Linked DNA regions of Homo sapiens: all the other regions are linked to region 2. Evidence: promoter capture Hi-C in 16 types of primary human blood cells and fetal thymus (Javierre and others, 2016). All regions are on one chromosome and are shown on one strand. Each heading gives the region's core, a stretch centred on a gene start or on the middle of the fragment in contact. The rest is flanking DNA. Distances are from core to core; before and after follow the strand shown.

Region 1 (4,210 bases), core at 98-2,597, 100 kb before region 2:
TGGCTTGTTACTTTAAAATTTAGCTTTTGGAGGGGGAGGGAGAAGATAAATCATTTTGCATTTTCTGTGTTCTGAACGCATACAGTATGCTGCTGTAAGTCTTAGTATTATTTAGGTCAGTATCCTAAGGATAGCTTTAATCGTTCATGATGGTCAGCTATACAGCCAGAGGAATTCAGCATCAATTTATTTTTCTGTTCTGATTTTATTCTGCTTCCAAGTTTTAAAAAATCCATTCACATTTTAATAAAATTCTGAGGCGGTATCTGCCGCTCTGTACTGCAGATACATTTAGCAGGATACATTTACACTGCTTGTGGTTAAAGGTTATAGCACGGATACAGACAGCTGATCATGCATTTTTCTACAAGCCTGCCGGCACCATTTAGGATTTTGAAAAATAATCTAGAAATGCTATACCCTTTATCAAAATTATTTTTTACTTTGCAAGAGCTTAACAGTTTTGGTTTTTTCTTAGCAATTCTATAAAATTAACATCTATAAAATGCATCCCGGACCAGATACATACTGTATTGAAAGCTTTCTTCAGGAAGAGAATATGAGAGTGTTCTTTCCAGCTTATTTTCTTCCTTAGCAAAAGGATTGTTTGATTCTCAGAAGCAGAAGGACACATTCATTGTGGAGCAGCTCTGCTTAAGTGTATGAAATGCCTTCTGTCTGGTTGCAGAATTTGGAGTTTACTAAACAGTGTTTAGTGATTGGGCTCATCTTGCATCACCAGTTGATGACATTTTTCTTTGTTCCCTCCTACCCAGTTGAACCAAGACTCTGAGGCTGATATGCAATGTCACTTACAACATTAATCAGATACTGCATTTAAGGTGAGCTGTCCCTTGCCTCCTCCTTCCCCAGTGCTCGTGTGCTGCATGCAGTGCGTATCTTGCTTCTGCGAGCCTAAGATGGCAGGCAGGATTAGCCGTGCTTGTGCTGTGTGTGCATGCTGTGTCTAGAATTCATTACACGTTGCCTAGTATTTCAGATGTGAGTATGTAAATGCTCTGTATGCCATATCATCTGGTAGCGAAGACTTGTTTTTGCCTCATTACAGCCTTAGATATTTCAACATCACCTTTCATTTCCAATTCATTTGCTTCTGGATGTTTGTTTTTCATCACATTCAAAATATGATTTTACCTTTTTTTTTTTAACAAAACCAAAACCCCCCACAAACCCTAAAAACAAAAACAACAACAACAAAACTCTGCTACCAGATGGTGTCTCTCCTTTCTTCGTGCATTTGCTGTCTTTTAAATAATGTATGTTGTATTGTTAATTAATGTGAATATCAAATTAAACACTTGAAACTTACATGTTTATTATGCAGGTAGGAGGCAAGGTGGATTCTATTTTTAACTCTTATGCACTCCATCATGTGCAAGCAACTTGGGTTCTCAAATTTGTATTTTCAATGCTGGTATCAGTGGTTTGATTTTCAGCAAATGTGACAGTGGCCTTTGCAGTGGTCAGCTCCGAGCTTTGAACTCTCAGAGGAGGAAGGGGAAAAAAATTCAACACACCACCTCCTTGGTTGCAGTCTCAGAAAAACCTTGGATGAGAAACTTCTTTTTTCAATCCTGTTTTCCTGTTGATAAATTCAGTTCTGTGATCACAGTTCATTCAAGCTGTTCTGCGTATGATTTTTGTGTGTATGTGACAATTGCATCTAAAACTTGTGAGCAAGAAGACAGAGAAATCAGTTGGTCTCCATCGCTTTACATAAAAATGGCTGAGTGTCTTGTCATGCTAGCACTGCATTAAGTGATGCATACAGGTAGGTTGAAATTTGCATGTTTTTATAGTTTTTTTTGAGCCATGCAGCAAGAACATTAGATGCATTAGAATATGACTTTTAAAAAAACAAAAATTAAATAAGACAGCTGTAATCTTTTGGGGGAGGGTTTTTAATTGGACAGCCTCTGCTATTCAGATAGTATATAAATGTATAGCTTTTACAAACTTAGTAAATGATTCTGCCATAAAAGGGAGATTTTTTTTAAAAAAAAATCATATATATGATAGGTGTGGTGCCATTAGACAACAAAAGAATTTTTTGAAAAGAGTGATGATTCAGCTCCATTTCAGCTTGAAACTAAAAATAAATGGGTTTCTGGAGATGATTTCAAAGAGCGTAAACAAGCTTAATAAGAAACATTAAAAATATTTAAATTTTAAGAAGCGGTCTTTAAACGTGTTTATGAAAGATGAAAATAAAAACTGATATGCTTCCAAAATTAATTTTAGGTAATATACAAGAATACATTATATTATGTATATAATTTGGGGGGATGAGGAGTTACAATTTTTAAAGAGGGAAATATTAAATATAGATGGCCCTCTTAAAAGAAATAGAGCTTCACTAAATGAAACCGAGCCCCTAGAATGGTTCATTGCAGACCATATAGCTGTGGTTCTGGCACTTTTCAAAATAATTTCATGAGCTCTTTCTTTTGAACTTAACTTCTCAAATATATTTTAGTTTCAAATTTAACACTGGGCCAGAACCTGTTTCCTTGGTAACCAAATCGTATTTAAACATGTAATAACAGATATGCAAAAGAATGTCTTTAAAAAGGAAACAAATGTTTAATGAAAAATTTACAGTTCTTTTTCCTCTCATATAGAATCTGAACTGGTTTTAGATGGTTTTTAATGCGGTCTTCAAGCCTTAAAAATTAAGCCATGTTTCTAAACATATAGAGAAAGCTTGCACAGTGACAGCTTTTCTCTCCCTCCTTTGTGCTCAGTACTTTCAAAATTAAGGTTTTCTTTGCAGTATGCTCCAGAATGCAGGTCAAGGTTTGTGTACAGAGGTGTAGTTTCATTATCACAAGTTCACCAGCGCCACTGAAACAAAAGGTATTTCAGAAATTCTGAGAATCAGAAAATGCTTGTACTCTTGCCTTCCCTGATCCCTCCGTTGGTAACCTCAGTGCTGTCGGTAGAAAAGGACCCACATCCAAGCCTACCCCTCCAATGACAAGTGCACCCTGAACCTTTGTGGAAATATCTCTATAGGTGTGTTAGGAAGATGGTGCTAAACCTGAAACCTCCCCGAGGTTTGCTTCAATGTGAAGAACATTGAGATTCAAAACCATCTGTGTAAATGGCTGCTTTATTCTAGCAGTTTAACTAATATTCTATTCCATAGCACTATCGTAGAATTGAACCTCTCTAATGGGCTGAAGGGTGGTGGTGGTTGTTGTCATGTTGTTTTGTGGCCAACTAAAATATTTTGCTTGGAGTCTTTCTCTGGTTCAATTATTTTGGAACGTGATTCATCTCATACTGATTTTGTTCTCCAGGCTTGCCATGAAATACCCTTCCTGCAACACCTTTTTTTTTTTTTTTTTTGGCTGTTGGGAGCCATTTTCCTTCTTGCCTGTGACTTTAAATGACTAAGTACATTTTGAATATAGTATCAATCAGAAGATTGTAAACTGAAGGGAAATATCAGAAACCTGATTCAATATTGCCTATTTTTTTTAGTACCAACAGCATTAACAGTTGCAATAGGATCAAGCTAATTGTCATTCGCTCTTGAGCAAATAATGAGCCAGGCATTTATAATTAAAACACTACTGCTAGTCAGAAAGCTTATAACTACAATGTCTTCTATTTTGATAGGCCAGTACAAAGTAATCATTTTGCACCTATTTGAATCTTAATTACAAGATTAGATGGATGCAATGCAATTGTTTTACCATTAAAATGAATGCCTGATAGATTCAACAGTGTATTTCTTCTTTATAGAATGTCGATTCTTTTGTTTGTGACTCAAGCATGGTTGCGTCATCTTGTAGATTTTCATACTTAATGGCGTTTTTTTGTGGCATTATTCACTTATGTTGCTCTTAGTCTTGCCTAAAAGAATTTTAAACCCAATTCAAGGATCTAGAAAGCCAAATAAGATTGTTGGGAAGTGTATCGTACCATCGTCATTCTAATAAATAAACCAGTGAATAGAATAATAATTACTATATATTACTTCGTTGTGTTTCACCTTAATACTTTGCCTTCATATTTCACAGCAATCTTGACAAGGCACAAAGCTTTCCTAAACTTACCCATTTACAATTATTATTGAATTTCCAAGATTAGCTGAAAATGCTTCTTGATGATTGTAGAGGATGGCACTTACCCCATCTCATTGTTTGAAAAGCTATCCTGAACCCATTTACACTTTTTGGCT
Region 2 (4,353 bases), core at 1,854-4,353:
CAGGAGATCAAGACCACAGTGAAACCACGTCTCTACTAAAAACACAAAAAAAATTAGCCGGGCGCAGTGGCGGGCGCCTGTAGTCCCAGCTACTAGGAAGGCTGAGGCAGGAGGATGGCATGAACCCGGGAGGCGGAGCTTGCAGTGAGCCGAGATCGCGCCACTGCATTCCAGCCTGGGCAACAGAGCAAGACTCCATCTTAAAAAAAAAAAAAAGAAAAGAAAGAAAGAAAGAAAACTTTATTTTCCAAATATTTTATATTAAGGAAACATTGACATTACCCAAGATCTCTTCAAAGTAGGCAAGTATCAGTAAAAACAGAATAATTAGAAGTGACTTCGGATGAAAAAGCAATGGAGTTTGGGGATTTTAGTGAAACGGTATAAGTCCGAAATCTGCAAAAGGAAGACTGTCTGGAAGAACAAAAAAGTGGAGTGTCCCTTTATGTAAAATTGTTTTCATACCTTTAGTGACCATTTAGTAACAGAGTTATGCACTTGGGGTTAAGCTAGTGAAAAGGAAGGGAAGTTAGAAGATTTTGACACTAATGGACAAAGATATTGATACTTTGTCCATTGGATACGTTTGTCCATTGGATACATTTGTCCATTTGTACATTGATACTTTATCCATGGATACATTTGTCCAAAGGTTCAAATAATTTCTCTGTTTATTGGAGAAAGAAATAGATGGATGAGGCATCGCTTGGCCAAGCAGGAGGAAGGCCAGAATCAGGCTGGTGAGAAAAGGGGCTCAGTGTGGCTGGAGATCAGAGGAGTCAGGTACGCTGGATCCAGTTCCAACTCTTGGCTGAAGAATTTGAACTTTAGTCATTTCTAGCATTGTTCATTACCTGTAGTGTGCTCTTGCTAGCTGGCTGAAGGGATAAATGAAGCCACTGATGTCCTCTTGAGCAGGCAACTGATAAGCTCCATTTTTTTTGTTAGGAAAGTTAATTTAAGTGGTATGTAGGAGGAATGAGAGGGATGGGGGACTTATTACCAGAGTTCCAGTCAAAAGCATGAGGTCAGTTACTGAGGTAATCCTACTACGTGCTCAGCATTCCACTAGACACTTAACACCCTGCTCCCAATACTTATTTAATCTTAATAACAACCCTTCAAAGAAGAAAGTTTAGCATTTCCACTTTACTGTTAAAGAAACAGGTTCAACCGGGCGCAGTGGCTTACACCCAGCACTTTGGGAGGCTGACGCGGATGGATCACTTGAGCCCAGAAGTTCAAGACCAGCCTGGGCAACATGGCAAAACCCCATCTCTACCAAAAATACAAAAATTAACTGGACATGGTGGCGCGCACCTGTAGTCCCAGCTACTTAGGAGGCTGACATGGGAGGATAGCTTGAGCCCAGGAAGTTGAAGCTGCAGTGAGCTGAGATCGTGCCACTGCACTCCAGCCTAGGCAACAGAGCAAGACTGTCAAAAAAAAAAAGAAAGAAAGAAAGAGAAGAAACAGAAACAGGTTTAGGAAGGTTGAGTAACTTGCCCAAATGTAAAAGGGGTAGAAACAGGCTCTATGTCTGATTCTAAAAAGGGATGCCTTTAAAAATAAGGGGGAAAAAACCCTGTAACACGTTGATACTCTTTAAATGAGAATAATTTTAACAAGGGCAATGACAGAGAATGGAAAGGAAGGAAGAGATTTCAGCAGAGTCAGAAGGATGTGGCAACTGAAAACAGCATTGGGACAAGGGATAAGAAAAAGTCAAAGTTTCTGGCCTGAGTAACAGTATAAGATGTGAACTCAGATTTGGAAAGGGAGACAGGAAATTAAGTTTTGGACTTATGTTTGAAATGACAGCAAAACATTCATATAAGAGGAAGTGGTTCACTTTATCCAACAAGTGTAAAGATCACATGGGGAAATAGAAGTCACCTGCAACACAGGCAGAACTGGAAGCTTCGCTGGCCAGGTCCATGTTAAACTCTGACCATTCTCTGGGGCTGTCCAGCCTTTGCACAGGCGGCGCGTTTGTCTTCAGTTTTCAGGTTTCCCCGTCCTATTTCTTATCTCCCAGTGCCTCTGGCCTTTTCTGTGTCTCCCTCCAGAATGAGCTGGAGCTCTCTTCATCTTGACCTTTGTGTAGTCTCTGAGGTCTGAGGCCATCACTATGTCTGACCCTCAAAAAATATTTGTTGACTGACTGGCTTATTCCTGTTGTTGCCCTGGAAAAGAATTACCCTGCCCGATTAAGTCACAGTTTCTTCCTTCTTAGGGCAGCGTAGTTAACAACCTCAACACCAGGAAATTGTCTTCCTCATCACATACCAGGGTATTATTCATGCAGTTTACTCACTGTAAAGAGTTCCCTTGAAATAAAGCTAACAATTAGTCAAAGATTTACACATTTCCTAGGGTCAGTCAACTTTTTAACAAAGCCAACTTTTAGTAGTGGTGGCGGTGGCGGGGGGGAGCCCTTCTTTGCTTTTTCTGTTCCTGAAATACAAAAGTGATGGTAAATGCTTCAGAATTTCTCTATGAGAGGGTCTCAGGCACTGCACTCACGCTGGAGTTGGGGGTGGCTGGTCCTTTTCTTGAACCAGGTTTTGCAGAGAATTGGTCCTAGTAAAGAGTATTTGTGTGGGAGGAGTTTGGCTTGCTGGCGGGGAGTATTTGGATAATACTGGAAGAGCCTCAAATGCATCTCTTGCCTCCTTTTGAATAAGATACTTTTGAGGTCCACCCACCTGCCAAATTCCATTCTATTTTCTTCCCACAGGGAGTTTCCCTGATTGGGAAGGGCCTGTATTTCCCGCGAGCGTTAGGAGATGTGCAGGTCTATTCATTGGGGGAGCCCAATTCCCGGGAGGATTTAGGGATCACGGGAGGGCCGGGGCGTTCTCCTGGTGGGGATTTTAAGGCCGCTCAGAGCCACGACTGGGAGCTACCCTTAGCCAGCGCCCCAAGCCGGGAGTACGGTTCTCTGCAGGGTAGCCCGGCTCGGGGGTGGCGAAGGCGGTGAATGGAGACCCGGGGGGGGCGGGGGCGGGGCCGCGGCGGGCGGGGCGGGGCGGGGCGAGTCGGGCCGAGGCCCGGGGGCGGGGCCAGGCGCGCGGCTGGCCTGGGCCTAGGCCGCTGCTGGGCTCCGCCTCGCCCGGCTACGCAGGCGGCAGGGCTGCGGCACGGGCCGGGCGGCACCATGGCGGCGGCGGCGCCTGCTGCTGCGGCGGCTTCTTCCGAGGCGCCAGCGGCGAGTGCGACTGCAGAGCCCGAGGCCGGGGACCAGGACAGTCGCGAGGTTCGAGTGTTGCAGAGCCTGCGGGGCAAGATCTGTAAGCGGGGGCTGGGCTGAGGGGACGCCCTGGCGGCGCTGGGCGCGAGGCTGAGGGGGCGGCGGGTTCGCGGCGGTGGCGGCGCCGAGCTGCGCTGGGATCGCGGGCCCGGGAGGGGGCCTGGGCCGGGCGCGGTTGAGGCTGGAAGGGGGTGTGTTGGGGGGCGGCGTCGCCTCGACGGGGCGGCGTGGGCCGGGGCTGCTGCTCTCCGGAGGGAGTGGGAGCTGGAGATGGGCCTGGGGTGGGAGAGCCCGGGCTGCGCCGGCGTGAGGGGCTCGGTCGTGGGGAGCGGCCTGGACGCGGGGACGCTGGAGTCCGGGGCGCGGCCGGGGGCGCGGTCCGGGGGCGTGAGGAGCTTCCGGCCGCCCTCAGACTCAGGCCTTCGCGCGGCTGCGGGCGCTGGGGAGTGGCCCCGCGGTGGGAGCCGAGCAGTAATTATACGGAGGCGCGGCCCGAGGAGGTGGCGGGCTGGGAAGTGGGGCTGGCCCGAGGGGAGGGGGCTGTTCGTTTCCTGGGCTCGGCGAGCCTGGGAGAGGTTGAAAAAGGCGCCCTGAGCTGCAGGAAACGGGCCGCCCTGGGGCCCGAGTGGCTACCGCGCGGTCTGTTCGCGGGTGAGCGCCCCGGGAGGAGCTCGGCGGGACACCTGTACTTGCCCCACCTCGCTGCGGCCGGGACTTGAATCGAGGGACGGCGTGACAGGCGGGACTAAAGGCAGGATGTAGTGGCTTCCTGTGAGCAGGTCTCAAAACACAATCACCCAGCCCGCACTCAGCCCGCTTAATTCCCTTCCTTCTCATGCGTGTAATTGCTACTTTAGTGAGCGAGCCTACCAGTTGACTAAATACGAAATTTTGCTCAGAGTTGTCCGAGCATTACTGTGGACAGATTATTTGAGTTCTGTCATTTGAACATTTTAGTTTTAAAAACGACCCTTTGGTGTCAGGTTGCCATTTTTTTTTTCACAGTGGTTTATTTAGATGAAGTGCTTTTTGTTTTCTGTTTGTAAGAGAGATCAATAACATTTATTTTTGCATTTGTCGAAAATTAGCATTATTTTCTT
Region 3 (4,604 bases), core at 940-3,439, 120 kb after region 2:
AAAAGACTAAAAACAGTTGACTCCAAACACATGAATCGGTTTCTTTGCTATAGGAAATCCAAGTGGAATAAGGAATGGAGATGTGTAAAAAGGTTTCTTGAAGGAAAGAAGGAGGACACCCTGTATGTATTTAGTTTTCAGCCCCTTCTACTGCCTCACATTCTTCTCCTGCACTGTCTGATGTCCAAAGTGTTAGGTTGTCTCTAAGCAATTGCATGATGAGGGTTCTTGTCGGAGGTGTCAGTCTTCTGCTCAATGTTCAAGATGAGCCTCCAGGCGGACCTGCAGCCCCCGACCACATTCTAATAAGGAGCAGGTTGCGCTCCTTATTAGACAGCTCGGCGACCTACTTGGTCACAGCCTTCATGCAGGTGGCCATGTCATCGTAGTGCTCTGCCTGCTTGGCCAGCTTGGCCTTCAGGATCAGCTCCCTCTTCTCCTTGACGGGTGCAGGGCAGAGGGCAAAGAGAGCAAGGGCAAGCGCCGACCCGGAGCAGGAGGAGTCCTTCAGAGCTTCACATCTCCGTGGCCACAACTAGAGTCCCACCACTTTGATCTGCCTTTTAGATAAGTATTTTTTAAGAAGCCACATCTCCCTGAATTCATCTCGATTTTAACACAATCCCACTCCAAATCCCAGCCAGTTTTTAAAATAAAAATGGACAAGTTGATTCCAGAATTTACATGGATGGAAAAATAAAGGTCTTAACCATAGCCAAAGCAATGTTGAAAGGTAAAACAAAGTTGAGAGCTAATTTAAAGACTTACTGTAAAGCTGCAGTAATCAAGATTGTAGGTTTAGGATAAGAGAGAAAGAGATCAATGGACAGAGCAGAAAGAAACACACACATAAATATGGCCAATTCCGTTTTAACAAAGCTGTCAAGGCAATTCAGTAGGGAAAGAAAAGGCTTTTTAACATATGGTGCAGGAACGACCCTGATAAACATGGAGGGGAAATGAACTTTACCCCACCTCACACAACACAAAATTTAATTTAAGATGATGGGGCCGGGCACAGTGGCTCACACCTGTACCCTAGCACTTTGAGAGGCTGCGGCAGACAGATTGCCTGATCTCAAGAGTTCAAGACCAGCCTGGGCAATATGGTGAAACCCCGTTTGTATTAAAAATACAAAAATTAGCTGTGCATGGTGGCCCACGGCTGTAATCCCAGCTACTCAGGAAGCTGAGGTCCGAGAATCACTTGAATGCTTGAACTCGGGAGGCAGAAGTTGCTGTGAGCCGAGATGGCATCACTGCGCTCCAGCCTGGGCAACAGAGAGAGACTGTCTCCACTGTCTCCAAAAAAAAAGAAAAAAAAAAGATGATAGAATCATAGACCTCAAAGAAAATGTGGAAAAATATCTTCGAAACCATGATATGCTAGGATTTCTTGAAGAGAACATTAAAAGCACTGAACATTTTTCTTAAATGAATTGGACTTCATTGAAAAGAAAGATGTATTTTCTCCATTATTCATTGTGATTCCTTTTTCTTTTTTTAATATGATGACCATAAAATGTATTACTTGGTGGTTGAAATTTTTCAAGAGCTTGTTGGGGTTTGTTGAATTTTTTGAACCATAAGATAATGTTTTTCACCAAATTTGGGACTTTTTTGACTTATTTCTTCAAATTTCTCCCCTTTTTCTTCTAGGGATCCTCCAATTTATGCTGATAAATTGTCTCATGGATCTCACTGAGACTCAGTTCATTTTTCTTTTATTCTCTTTGGTCTCCAAATCAGATCATTTTTACTTAAGTTCACTGATTTAGCTCATGTGAATTTTTCATTCATCTGTTGTACTTTTCAGCTCCAGAATTTCCATTTAGTTCTCTTTGTACTTTAGATTTTTCTGTTGAGAGCCTATATATGTTCAGTTGCTATTAGTATATTTTTATTGAATTATTTCAGCATATTTAGAGTAACTGCTTTGAAGTCTTAGGCTGCTAAATTCAGTATCTGGACCCATTCAGAATCAGTTTTAGTTGGCTGCCTTCTTTCCCAAGTTATGTGTCACACTTTCCTGTTTTTTTATATGTCTTACTTTCTTATTAAAAGCTAGACATTTTTAAGATCAGCAGTCCCCAACCTTTTTGTCACCAAGGACCAGTTTCATGGAAGACAATTTTTCCACGGACTGGTGGGGGGTCATGTATTTGGGATGAAATTGTTTTACCTCAGATCATCAGGCATTAGATTCTCATAAGGAGTGCACAACCTAGATCTGTTGCATGCTCGTTTCACAATAGGATTTGCACTCTTGTGATCTCATGCCACCCTTATCTGACAGGAGGCAGAACTCAGGTAGTAATGCTTGCTTGCCCACCCACTGCTGCTCCTGCTGGGTGGCCCAGTTCCTAACAGGCCACTGACCAGTACCAGTCTATGGTCCAGATTTTGGGGACCCCTCTTTTAGATAGTACACTGTAGTGTGTCTGCATTTGGTTTGTTCTGAATGCTTGCCTAGACTAAAACTGCAGTCTCTCTCTCTTACTTACAGTGTATCTCTCTGTTCAGATGTTTCCCTCTAACCCTAGCTAGCTCCCTAGGGGGCCTCACCTGAACTTGATTAGTTTAGTGGTCAACAAATGAATTGAGCAGGCAGCTCAAATACCTCAAAGGCTTCCACCCTCTGTCATCTGAGCTGTGTGTGGATTAGAGAATACATTCAGAGTCACAGCAAATTGACGTCTCCCCAGGCTTTCAGTTTTTGCCAGACTCTGGGATATTCCACATACATGCCTACGTTAGCAGTCAGGCAGGGATCTGGCAAGTTTATTATCAGGCTTTCATAGCCCTCTTGCTTCCAGATTTCATCCTTAAATGGAATCTGTAACCTCCAGCCAGTAAAACTTGTATTTTCATTGCCTAACTTGGGGATAATGGAAACACCCCCAGGTAGGAAGACCATAAATCCACAGTTCTTACCCTATGCGGTTTTTCATGAGTAAACTTATCACCGTTGGTTGTTTTCCCGTGCCCTGAAGTTGTTTTTAACAATTTGCCCAGTTTTATACACCCATCTTTCTTAACACTATTATCAAAAATACAGTCATGGTAACATTGTTTTAGCTGTGTCCCTTGGGGCCAATATGTAGTTGGACATTCATTTTTATTGTGGTGGTAATTGTATTTTTTTAAATTTAGGCCAGGCACAGTGGTTCAGGCCCGTAATCCCACTACTTTAGGAGGCCAAGGCGGGTGGATCACCTGAGGTCAGGAGTTCGAGACCAGCCTGGCCAACATGGTGAAACTCCATCTCTACTGAAAATACAAAAATTAGCCAAGTGTGGTAGTGGGCGCCTGTAATCCCAGCTACTCAGGAGGCTGAGGCAGGAGAATCGTTTGATCCCAGGAGGTGGAGATTGCAGTGAGCCGAGATCATGCCATTGTACTCCAGCCTGGGTGATGAGAGCAAAACTCTGTCTCAAAAAAAAATAAAAAATAAAATTTAGATATAATTCACATACCATAAAATTCACCCTTTTAAGGTATACAGTTGATTGGTTTTCAAGATATTCATAGTGTTGCGCAATTGCCACTAATTCCAAAGCATTTTCACCACCCAAAAAGAAACCCTATACCCATTAACAGTCACTCCCCATTCCTCCCTTCTCCCAGCCTCTGACAACCACTAATATACTTTCTGTCTCTATAGATTTGCCCATTCTAGACATTTCATGTACATGGAATCATATGTAGCCTTTTGTGACTAACATCTTTCACTCAGCATAATGTTTTGGAGGTTCATTCATGTTGTAGCATGAATCAGTACTTTATTTTCATGGCTGAATCATATTCTCTTTTACAGATAATACCACATTTTGTTTATTCATTCACCAGTTGATGGACATTTAGGTTGTTTTTGGTTTTTGGCTATTATGAACAATGCAGTTGTGAACATTCATTTACAAGTTTTTGTGTGGATGTGTCTTCAGCTCTCATGGTATATACGTAGGAGTGTAATCAGTGAGTTAATAGGGTATTTCTGTTTAATTAGGAGGTAATGACAACTTTAAAACCTGATTTCAGCCATTTAGTAGGAAATTTAATGCACTCACATTTATTGTGATTACCATTACTACTACTTTGTTTTGTGTTTTCTATTTACTAGTCTTTTCTGTTTCTTGGGTTTATTTTTCCCTTCCTTTTTATTGGAATAGTTGAGCATATATGGGTGTTTGCACTCTATCTTTCTGTCTCTATCTAGTGAGGAAACTTGACTATCCTATTTTTACTTTTTAAATTGTTAACAAATTAAAACTTAAATGTTTATATTAATGTCTACAGTTGATCCAAGTCTCCATTCAAGCTGGGAAAGAACATTATCATGCTTTCAATTATTCTTTTCCTAGCATCTCCCTAAAGAAGTCATCTGGAATTTTAATACTTGTTTCTCTTGTTTCTTTTACCTTTTTACATTATGTTTTAATGATTTTGCATCCTTGCCTATCAATTTTACTGATTTCTTTGGCCCAACACTATTTTTTGTATAACACATCTTTTTCCTGGATTCATTATTATTTTGTGGGAGTACTTAAGGAATTCTTTCAGATAGGCTTTATGGCTGATAAGTTTTCTGAGTCCTTACATATACA
Region 4 (4,123 bases), core at 1,172-3,671, 120 kb before region 2:
GGGCAAACGCACCCCTGGTTGAGAATCACTGCTCTTGTCCTCAGTTTCTCATCAATAAAAGGAAGCACAGAACCAAGTGCTTTAAGCTCACCTAAAGCACCAAATTCTCTGACTCCGTCAATGTCAAATCTGTAAATTTGTTTTCCAGAAGCTATTTTCCTCCAGAGCCACTAGAGGGGACACTCTGCTACACAAAGGACAAAAACAGAGCACTCAGGGAACTTTGTTTTCCTCTCCTCTTGACTTTGTTTCTGTTTCTGACCGCCCCAGCCTTAAATAAATAGTCTTTGATGTTGAGTGTGATAACCCCTTACCACGAAGCATGAAGAGTTGTTTGTCTTGTGCCTGGTGCCATAAAAGTCAGTGTTTTTAGATATGGCGGGGAGGGGAGGGCAAAATATTCTCTGCTTTTTAAACATTCTTTGTAAGGTAGTCAGATGAATCATGCCTCTAAAAAAAGATGTGCATTTCCATAAGCGGAGCCTGCAGGACAACCAGGCTGGGAGGTGGAAAATCTAGTTCTGTTCCTGGTCCTGCCACTTCTGGGCTGTGTGATGTTGGCCAAATTTCTTGACTTCTCTGGTTTTATATAGATAACAGAACTGAGGAAGCTGAGGCTGAGAAGTTAAGGTCACACAGTATGTTAAGTGGTCAAGCAAGGACTTGCGTCTGACCCATCAACTTCATAGAATAGTTGTGAAAACCAGAAGAGATGGAGAAAGTGAAAGAGTCTTGAAAAATAGAAAACCCCACAACAAGTTCAAGGTGTGAATGTGTAGATATTGTGGGAATGAGAGAAGGGGATGGCTATGGGGTAGCATGAGGGAGCAGGGTAGGTCCAGACAGCAAACAGAAGTTACTCCTTCTCCAAGTGTTGTAAATTACAGGAAAGAGCCTCAGTGCCCCCAAATACTTCACTACTGATGGAGCTTCATCCCTAGGACTTAAGGTCTCCATCCCTATAAAAGTGGACAGATCACTAAGAGGAGTTTACTTTATGCTCTGATGAGTTGTTTATACACCTCAGCGAAAGTGAGGGATCTACAACACTGGTTTTTAAACATTTTTTTAAAACCCTGAACCACAATAGAAAATATGTTTCACAGAGAGACCCAGCTCACATACATATTATAAAATCGAAACGAAAGTGTTAGTTATAATGTACTTGGATCTTTTCTATTGTTTTATTTTATTCTATCACTTGCAACCCATGCTGACCCACTAAATAATGAGTCCTGACCTGCACTTGAAGGTATTATACTAGAAGGTTTTGTGGAGGGGAAAGAGTTTAGGGTCCTGGAGCTGGTCTAGGGAGGAAACAGATGTGTCCTCCGAACAGTATTCAAGGATCCCTAAAGATGAACTTTTTACAAGTTTTATAGTTTTCCAAGGGCTGATTCTCTGAGGCGTGATTCAGGAGGAAGAAAAGAGAACAATAATTCCAAATTTGAATTCCCAAAATTCACCCAAATGAGTGAGGATGGGCCATTGGGTAGCAACCTCTAGACTGGATTCTCAGAGGTTATGATCTAAACCCCCCACATCATTAACATAAAATAGATAACATAAAATATAGATAGCATAAAATGACCACCAGCACAAAAAACATTTTTAATCCAACATTTATTGAGCCATTATTATATATCAGACATTGCACTAAGCACTTTACATGAGTGATAGGACATAAATTAAGTTTAAGTGTTCCCTGATTTTCTTCTCTTCCTGCCCACTAACAAGAGTTCTGGCTTTGTTTGTCCAATTTCTTTTTCTGCCCCAACAGAAGAAGAACTGGACAGAGCGGAAGGACCAGAGGAAGGCTGATTAGGACTGGAGAAAAGATTTCAGGGAGTTTGGGAGAAAGAAAGGGAGGCAGAAGCTATGGGGTGTAAGAGGCTTGGATAGGAGGGGAAAAGGATGCTGAGGGGAATTGAAGGGGCTCTTTGTGATGTTTGAGAAATGCAAGTATTAATATGAGTTAATTAGAAATTACTTTTGGTGACTAGACTGGGTTTCTTGGGCTGCAACCCTGCCCCCCACCCCAAGACTGCACCCTGTAGGTCATGGTCTGAATAGGGTTACATATGCATTATCTTATTTAATCTGCATAACAAACCCATGAGGTGGTATTAGTATTTCCTTTTTCTCAGATGAAGAAAAAGAACTTGATACAGTCTAAGTAACCTTACATTACATGCAGCTAATAAATAGTGAAACCAGGACTGGGACTTAAGACTTTTGATCATGAAAGCACAAGCTCTTAAGTCCGTGAGCATAGATGATTCCCAGTATAAACAATACCAGTTAATAAAATACTCGAGAATAAATTTAACAAAAGAATTGCAAGACTTGTACACTGAAAACAACAAAACATTGCTGAAATAAATCAAAGATCTAAATAAATGAGAAGGTTTCCTAGGTTTATGAATCAGATGACTGAATATTGCTAATATGGGATTACTCCCAAAATTGATCTGCAGGTACCATTTAACATCTATCAAAACCCCAGCTGTATTTTTTGCAGAAATTGAGAAGCTGATCCTAAAAATCATATGGCAATGCAAGGGATCCAGAATAGCCAAACGATTTTGAAAGAGAACAAAGTTGGTGGACTCACACTTCCTAATTTCCAAACATAATATGAAGCTATAGTAATCAAAACAGTGTGGTACTGACATGACAATAGATATCTAAATCAATGGAATAGAATTAAGAGTCCAAGAATAAATATTAATATTTATGGTCAGTTGATTTTTGACAAAGGGGCCAAGACAATTCAATAGAGGGAAAAATAAATAAACTCTTTATTTTAGAATAGTTTTTTAAATAAACTCTTTATTTTAGAATAGTTTTATATGTACAGAATTATTGTAAGAATAATCTTTTCAACAAATAGTTATGGGACAACCAGATAGCCACATGAAAAGAATGAATGTGGATCCCTACCTCACACCATAGGCAAAATTAACTTAAAGTGTATCATAGATCTAAATGTAAGAACTAAAACTATAAAACTCTCAGAAGAAAACTCAGGTGTAAATCTTCATGACCTTGGGTTAGATAATGTTTTCTCAAATATGATGCCAAAAGTACAAGTGATGAAAGAGAAGATTGATAAGTTGGACTTTATCAAAATTAAAAACTTTTATGCTTCAAATAACACCAACCAGAAAAGAAATGACAACCATAGACAGGGAGATAATATTGTAAAATATATATCTGGTAAGGGACTTTTGTCTGGGGTATATAAAGAATCCCTAAAACTCAAAAATTTAAAAAAAAAAATTAGGCCGAGTGTGGTGGCTCACGCCTGTAATCCCAGCACTTTGGGAGGCTGAGGCAGGCAGATCACCTGAGGTCGGGAGTTCAAGACCAGTTGGACTTCATCAAAATTAAAAATTTTTATGCTTCAAATAACACCAACCAGAAATGAAATGACAACCATAGACAGGGAGATAATATTGTAAAATATATCTGATAAGGGACTTGTGTCTGGGATATATAAAGAATCCCTAAAACTGAAAACTTTAAAAAAAAAATTTTAGTCCAGGTGGCTCACACCTGTAATCCCAGCACTTTGGGAGGCTGAGGCAGGGAGATCACCTGAGGTCGGGAGTTCAAGACCAGCCTGACCAACATAGAGAAACTCCATCTCTACTAAAAATACAAAATAAGCCAGGTGTGGTGGCACATGCCTGTAATCCCAGCTACTCGGGAGGCTGAGGCAGGAGAATCGCTTGAACCCGGGAGGTGGAAGTTGTGGTGAGCTGAGATTGTGCCATTGCACTCCAGCTGAGGCAATAAGAGGGAAACTACATCTAAAAAAAAAAAAAAAAAAAAAAAAAAAAAAAAAAGCCCAATTTGAAAGATAAAGGATTTGAATAGACAGTTCTCCAAAGAAGATATACAAGTGACCAATAAGCTCCTGAAAACACACTCAACATCATTAGTCATTTGTTAAATGCAGTTCAAAATCACAATGAGATATCACATTGTACCCACTAGGATGGCTATAATAAAAAAGACAGGCAATAACAGCATTGGTGAGGATGTGGGGAAATCAGAACCCTCATAAATTGCTAGTGAGAATGTAAAATGATGCAGCACTTTGGAAAACAGTTTGATA

The links. Contacts are between HindIII fragments. The CHiCAGO score rates a contact against its expected background, and 5 or more counts as called.
Region 1: a fragment that was not itself captured here is called in contact with the fragment with the promoter of RASA2 in region 2 in 1 of 17 cell types (total CD8 T cells); the score reaches 5.1 in total CD8 T cells.
Region 3: a fragment that was not itself captured here is called in contact with the fragment with the promoter of RASA2 in region 2 in 2 of 17 cell types (neutrophils and naive CD8 T cells); the score reaches 8.0 in neutrophils.
Region 4: a contact is called between a fragment that was not itself captured here and the fragment with the promoter of RASA2 in region 2, in 3 of 17 cell types (total CD8 T cells, activated CD4 T cells and naive CD8 T cells). The highest score is 6.2, in total CD8 T cells.

The regions. Positions count from the first base shown.
Region 1 is chr3:141,386,096-141,390,305 of GRCh38, forward strand. ZBTB38 (zinc finger and BTB domain containing 38) reads left to right here. Exons shown (of 6, transcript NM_001376113.1): 4 at 777-842. Among named protein-coding and RNA genes, the nearest start is that of ZBTB38, 20 kb to the left of the region's middle. RefSeq lists an enhancer at 1,461-1,690. The HindIII fragment of the contact is 1,618 bases long and covers 539-2,156 here.
Region 2 is chr3:141,483,924-141,488,276 of GRCh38, forward strand. It overlaps RASA2 (RAS p21 protein activator 2), which reads left to right and starts at 3,104. Exons shown (of 24, transcript NM_006506.5): 1 at 3,104-3,293. The coding sequence starts at 3,161. RefSeq lists a silencer at 3,013-3,892. The HindIII fragment of the contact is 5,296 bases long and covers 1,919-4,353 here.
Region 3 is chr3:141,600,137-141,604,740 of GRCh38, forward strand. All of the region lies in intron 19 of RASA2 (RAS p21 protein activator 2), which reads left to right. It also overlaps the pseudogene YWHAQP6. Among named protein-coding and RNA genes, the nearest start is that of RASA2-IT1, 77 kb to the left of the region's middle. The HindIII fragment of the contact is 9,060 bases long and covers 1-4,604 here.
Region 4 is chr3:141,360,860-141,364,982 of GRCh38, forward strand. It overlaps a transcript of ZBTB38 not described here. Among named protein-coding and RNA genes, the nearest start is that of ZBTB38, 5.6 kb to the right of the region's middle. The HindIII fragment of the contact is 5,814 bases long and covers 1-4,123 here.